Regions from separate parts of the Homo sapiens genome. Here region 1 is linked to region 2. The links are contacts of gene promoters, found by promoter capture Hi-C in blood cells and fetal thymus (Javierre and others, 2016). All regions are on one chromosome and are shown on one strand. The core of a region is centred on a gene start or on the middle of the fragment in contact, and the rest is flanking DNA. Distances in the headings are between cores, read along the strand shown. Region 1 overlaps CRISP1 (cysteine rich secretory protein 1). Region 2 holds the start of OPN5 (opsin 5).

Evidence for each region. The method cuts DNA at HindIII sites, captures the fragments that hold promoters and counts their contacts. A CHiCAGO score of 5 or more calls a contact.
Region 1: a contact is called between a fragment that was not itself captured here and the fragment with the promoter of OPN5 in region 2, in 2 of 17 cell types (neutrophils and M2 macrophages). The highest score is 6.8, in neutrophils.

Annotation. Positions count from the first base shown.
Region 1 is chr6:49,837,745-49,841,208 of GRCh38, reverse strand. CRISP1 (cysteine rich secretory protein 1) reads left to right here. Exons shown (of 8, transcript NM_001131.3): 6 at 214-311; 7 at 2,684-2,772. Among named protein-coding and RNA genes, the nearest start is that of CRISP1, 27 kb to the left of the region's middle. The HindIII fragment of the contact is 3,812 bases long and covers 1-3,341 here.
Region 2 is chr6:47,780,450-47,783,957 of GRCh38, reverse strand. OPN5 (opsin 5) reads right to left here and starts at 1,926. Exons shown (of 7, transcript NM_181744.4): 1 at 1,762-1,926. The coding sequence starts at 1,891. The HindIII fragment of the contact is 3,260 bases long and covers 1,759-3,508 here.

The sequences.
Region 1 (3,464 bases), core at 186-2,685, 2.1 Mb before region 2:
CTGGTTTCCATTGTGTGCAGCTATGTGCGTGTACATGCATGTGTGGTATCCAGACACGTGGGAGTCCTTTTGTTTCTATGACTTCTTATTAAGCCATGCCCAAAGTAAACCTAAAAGCAACATGTTTACTTTTAATCATGGATGACAATATGGATATTATAGTCATTTAGTAAAATATTTAATCTGTAATAAAACAACTCTTTATCATTGCAGATTGTTTGGGCCACATCTTACCTGATTGGCTGTGCCATTGCATCTTGCCGCCAACAAGGATCACCTCGATATCTCTACGTTTGTCACTATTGTCATGAGTATGTATTATTAGTTTTTAAAATATATATCCCCCTAAAGTAACCTAATCTAGTTTTTCAAACATTGTTTTTTTGTGTGCATAAATGTTTGTAGCAACTTTATTCATAATAGACAAGAGCTGGAAATAACCCAGATGTCCTTCAAAGATGAATGGTTACACAATCTGTAGTTTGAGTCTTGACTACTTCCTAGTTATGTGAAAACACATATTTAGTTATATATTATTTTATTCCTTTGACTGTATTTTCTCTTATTTAAAAAAAACTCCAATATATTTTCAGAGCAATTTACCAGCAGTCTTCCTATGTGTCATTGATTCTTCAGGTAATTATTATATAAGAGAAACAAATTTGATTAAGCAAAGAAACAAGGACATTTACTTCAACAAAACAAGAGTATTGTTAGACCAAAAGGACAGACATGCAGTGGAGTCTTAACAAGGAAACAAATAGAAAGAGCCAAGTGTCTTTCCCTGTATTTAGCTATCTAGTCAAAAAGTTGTTGCATGTCTTCTCTTTAAAAATTAAATATACATGTTACAGATTCTACCACAGATACTAGTCACAATTCCTAGAAAATTTAATCTGATTGTTTCAGTAAGGTTCTGCTGCACCTTCTTCTCCTATCAACTGTGATTATGAAGCAAGATCAAGTAAGACAAGGATGACTGCAGGGCCCAACTGTGTGGCTCCAGTGACGGTTATCAGAAAAGTGAAGATTATTCAGAGCTGGATAGAACTGCCTGATATTTGACTACAAATGCCAGTTCAATATCACTTCTGCACTTCTGCTGATAAAAGTCAGTGACGCCATCATATATCTCCTTCAGCTACATGTATTTCTTAGATTAACACATAAGTCTTTCCTACATAATGTGAACTCAATGCATGGTGCTTAACCACTGCCTCCCATGTATGTAGCACAATACAAAATGTTCAGTATAAATCAATGAACATGATTTATTTGAAAACACACTGCCATACTTCACATTTTCAGTGGCGCCACCACTATCACTATTGATTCAGAGTGTAATATCACCATATAATAACTCTATATGAGTTATATATAAATTGTGCTGAAGACAATAAAATCTCTTTGCTGCTACAACACATCATTTGTGATACATGTTTTCAAGGGTTGGTAGTCTGCAGTGAACTTCAACTGATCCAAAAAAGAAAAGTACAAAATATGGAGATCTATGATGGGGAATTTTCTTGGTTGAAGATTAGTCCAAGTCTCTCATTAAATCTCTTACTGAATTTAGTAATAATCTTCTTTTCAAAGTGAAATTTTAGCAGCTCAGATAAACAAATATCATATTTAAAAAGGCTTTTTAAAACCAGAACATTTACTTTTTAAAGTTGTATTTAGAAGCAGATATTATCTACATTATGTTTTTAGACATACATGGGTAAGAATTGTCTTTTCTTTTTTGTTTTTCCTTTTGAGATAGGGCCTTGTTCTGTCACCCAGGCTGGAGTGCAGAGGTGTCAACATAGCTCCCTGTAGTATTGACCTTCTGGGCTCCAGCTATCCTCCCACCTCAGCCTTCCAAGTATCTGGAACTACAGGCATACGCCACCAGGCCTAACTAATTTTTTTTTTTTTTTTTTTTTTTTTTTTTGTAGATATGAAGATGCTTTTTTTTTGCCCAGGCTTTTCTCAAACTTTCGGGCTCAAGCAATCCTTCCACTTTGCCCTCTCAAAGTGCTGGGATTACAGGGATAAGTCATTGAGCCCTGCCCGTCTTTTCTAAAGTTTCAAATTAGTCCAGAACTAGAACTTCTCATCTACTTTCTTTCCCACACCCCAGCACTTTAGTTTTATCCATGCTGATGTACTTTCATCTTTTATATACACCATCTCTTTCAATAAAAGACATTAACATGTAAAAAGTTTCTTATAACATAGTGCAAGATGGAGTTAGAACCTCTCTAACTTGCCTCACTTGAGATTTTCTTCTTAACATTGGTAAGAATCATGCCCTTTTAAATGATGGTTTACCAAGTCCTTATAGGTATTAATGAAGAATGTTCTATTGTAATTGGCTCTAAAGCCCTCTTGCTTGTGAGTCCCCTTGCTTGTACTTGGGAGTACCCAAAGTTCCCAAGTACTGTTAGGACTTGACTGTCCAACGAGATGTGCACATTGACTGAAAAATATTTTCATGTCACTCACATTTATTGGTTCTACGTGCTAAAAAATATTATAGCTGTAAGATTGGAAATCTCACACCCATCTTAAAAATTATCACTGTTCTTTACAAGAATGTTTACACAATTTGTTTTTAAAATTGGTTGTACACTGTGAGTAAAGTTTTATGTGAGTTTTTCAAAGATGGGTTTTATGAAATCACTTTTTTTTATTCAAGGGGAAATGATCCTGAAACAAAGAATGAACCTTATAAGACAGGCGTCCCATGTGAAGCCTGCCCAAGTAACTGTGAAGACAAACTTTGCAGTAAGTTTGTTTGCATTCTGTTTGTTTACAGTTAACCCATTGATCTGGGAACCATACATCCTTTAAATTAAGCATTAAAAAACATCGCACTTTTCTACAACTTTCATCTCATTCATGTACAAATTATTTCTGCTTACCCCTCCCCAATTGCCAGAGTGACTGAAAACCATTGATTTAACCTATGGCAAAGGAAATTACAAAGTCTAGGTCTGAGAACTCGAGTTCCCACCCAACAGATTAAAATATTTAATTAGGGTCAACCTAGATAAAATATTGAGGTAAGTGTAGATTTTTCTCTGCTCTCTAAAAAGTTCTTGGACCCCCTTACTGCAACCCATAATTTAGGCCCATTGCTTTCAGTTTACCGGTGTTCTCCAATTGCTTGCCCCTCCATGACTACCTACCCAGGTTGCCTGACCACTTATTGTGGCATGCAATTTTTACTGAGTGATCCTTATTCTTCTTTGGTTCCTGTGAACCATCTAAAAAGTTAGCTGATGCTCACATTATTCCTTAAAGCCTCTTTTTTTTTTTTAATTTCTTGAATAAATCTTACCTAAGGTAAAGCTTTAGCCAAATGGGTGCCATTTCTGTTTATTCCCTTAGATAGCCAAATTTCACTTTTTGAAGCCTACCTGCAAACATAATTTCTTAATTTCTAGGAATAATCTTGATTAAGATAAATTATACTA
Region 2 (3,508 bases), core at 677-3,176:
AAGATTGGGAATGGACTGATAGGCCTCTCTGTTTTGTGTTGTCTGGAGAGATTTGTCAGGTTATTGATGTTACTTTTTTAATTCATTCCTTGAAAGTGATGGAGCTATGCTAAATACAATTGATCAAGTTGCTTATTTTTCTGCCTTTTCTGTTAATTGAAAGTACTTAAGTTTAATAAAAATGCAATGTGGATTTTACAGAGATAAGACAGTTTCTGTTCCAGCAGAATGTTTGCCCATTTTATTCTCTGCTCTATTCCCAGCAACTTAAAACAGTGGCAAAGAGTGGGCGCTCAATATATATTTATGTTGAAAAGAGATGGGGACTCATTTATAAGAAACAGAATTTAAACTAGTAAAACACTAACAACAATAAAGACAAAGACCCAGGGAATCACTTTACAGCAGAATTTGGTTGAATCACATGAGTTCCTTTTGCCTCAAGTACTGACCATAGAGGGATATCAAGTATTTTCTAATGAGTTTTGCTACTTTCAGGAGGTTAAATGAAATTCTTAGCCAGTAATAAATAGATGAGAGAGGGAGAAAAAGAGAGAAAGGGAGGAAGGGAAGAAGGGTGGAAGAGAAAGATAGAAACAAAGAGAAAAGAGAGAGAGAGCAAGTTTGACCCAACATCTGAAAAAATTAAAGGCAAACAAACCTAAAGACATAACCCACCTTCACACTGGTCACCCAAAGTTAAAACAACAATTTTAAATTTAAGAAAAGTATGGTTTCTTTTCTTAAATTTAAATAGGTGGTTAAATTAAATCCTAACTGTCTAGATTAGTGCTATCCAGTATAAATGTAATGTAAGCCAGAAATGCGAGCCACATATGGATTCTAAAATTTTCTGGTAGCCACATTAAACAAAGTAAAAATTTACAAAGTAAAAATTTAATTTATAAATTTAAAATTTACAGTAAATTAATTTTAATAATATATTTTATTTAGCTTAACATACCTAAAATGTTGTATGTTCAACATGTATTTAATTTTTAAAAATTATTAATGAGATATTTTATACCACTTTTTGTTGTACTGAGCCTTCAGTATCTGGTGAGTATTTACACTACAGCAACTTTCAATTTGGAAAAGCCACATGTGGCTACTGAATGAATGAGATCATGCAGTCTAGAAGCAGGTGCACCCTTTCGTCAATTATGCACAAAAATCTTTTGACCCCGGACTTTCTTCCATTTATCACCAACACATTTTTCAACTGTCACCAAAATGGCTTAGCTATTTTGATGCGACTTTACTTTTAGGTGAAGTAAACTCAGTGTTTCTGCCATTACTATAGTACTATAGCACAATAGCACAATTGAGTTTTGCACAGTTGTGAGAACAGGAGACTGACCTAGATTATTTTTAAGGCCCATTCTCAACCTAAAACTTATGATTATGTCAAAAACATTATTTAAAAAGCACTCTGTTTAAATAAAATATCATTATCATTAATTTTGGTATTCAGAAAGTAAATCTACTCCCAAAGTAACCAAAATGAAATGGATAAATAATTTTGCTGTAAGAGTTCTTGGATTATCAATGGAATTTTATTCCTAATAATAATGATAATAAAGAGTCATTTCTAGGAAACATTTATTGAATGCCATAATGCCATTCCATCTTCTGCCTTTCCCCACTCTTCGCCTCCACTAAACTATCCACTTAAGTATCAGAATCCTTTCACAAAATTAACATATCAGCCCATGAATTTTCTAAATGCAGCCTTTGCACAGAAGAATTAAGGAAGCTTACCAATTATTGTTAGGTAAAAGCCAGCCACTAAATCCGCTTCCCAAGAAAGTTTGGAAGCAAAAGGATCCCCATCTCGAAGGTAATGGGGCAGGCGCTCGTCCTGAGGCAGGGCAGTGTGATTTAACGCCATTCTGTTCTCGAACCACGAGGGATCTGAAAAGCAAACCAGTAGAGATCTCAGCAGACCTGAATAAGCCAGCTTGAACCATTTCATAATCGTGGCTCCTGTTTTAAAACAAAAAGCAAGTTCCCAGGGTCATGCATGATTCTCTAATTAATAACTGGTAAAAATTTTAACATTTTTTTCAATGATCCAATTATGTCATTACTCAGTTATTCGGTTGGCAGATTATCCAAGCCTTCATTTTCTCCTCTGTTTTCTCATGCTACTCTTTGAGCCACTTCTTTTCTCCTTGGGGTGATTAAAAGGTTGAAGGCCAAACTGTGCAATTTACTGTTTCTTAGCAATTTTTGTAAAGGTCTGAGCAGGAAATGATATTGTATGGAGTGTGCACACATACACACACACACACTATATATATATAATTTATGTATATAAATTATATATAATATATAAAAAATTTACATATGTATATATATAACTTGTCAGAATATAGTATTTTTTGATTATCCAGATTTCCCAGAAAATCATTTCCATTGTACATTCAATGAGGTTTAGAGTTTTGTAAGGAAAGAAATAGAGCATTCAGTACAAAGGAACATGGACACTTAATTAATTGAAGCTAAGAGCTAGGTGATTGTCAAAGTGATCTTGAAATTTGGAGCTATTTAGAAAGGATTCAAGCTGGGTTGTAACTCACAGGCACATCCACAGGAAGGTTTGTTTCTCAAGTTTCCTAGAGCAGAAAGCAATTTCATTATTTCTCACCACTGCCCCAAATCCATACTTTCTATTTGCTCATTTATGCTTCTGGATGAAATCTTGAGCATTGAGGAATTTCTCAGATACACAGGTCTTAGTACTGTTTCTTTTGAATTGGAGTTTTAAAAGGTTTACACAAAGTCTTTGATGGGCTTTCTGCAAAAATAAAAGTCACATGATATCCCTCATCCTGAAACTTGGAGTCGTGTGTTGTTCTTCAGATAAAGTATGCTGCTGATGTTAAAACTTCCTTTGGAAGGGTCATTCCTTTGTCATGATTGTTCCTATTTGTTTTGAAAGGGGAAGAAATACTAGTGTGGCTGTTTCTCTTTTGAACTTGCCTATTTCAAATCGAACCAACAGATGTCACTGTTCAGCTCTCTAGGCAACAATTTCGGGCATTATATGAGACAGCAAGTGGAACACAGAGTTGTGTGCCCCACAGGCGGTGACAGGGTGATCGGCACATATCTAACCATGTAATTCACCTTCGCAAAAGACATGAATTTAACCCCTTTCTAACTGCCAACTTACAGCTTACAGAGGAAGGCTAGTGACCCTTTCAGTGGCCAGTTGGCTGAAACTACAGTCTCCTACACACAGTTTGAGGACAGTCATGTGCTAATGTTCATTCCAAATCCTTCTCCCTGAGATGGTTAGAAAGCTGTAGGAGAAATCTTTGGCTGCCAGATGCACCACATCCCAAGACCTACCCCAGGTGAAAGTTTATCTTTACCTTTCAAACTCCTGATTCCCCTTTGACTGCCTCTTGTTCTGGTAAACTCTCTCCTCCCCAAAGATTGCCCCCGCCCAACTGGCTGTCCAGTCCTGTCCTCCACCTTAGCTTCAGAATCATAAGATGAA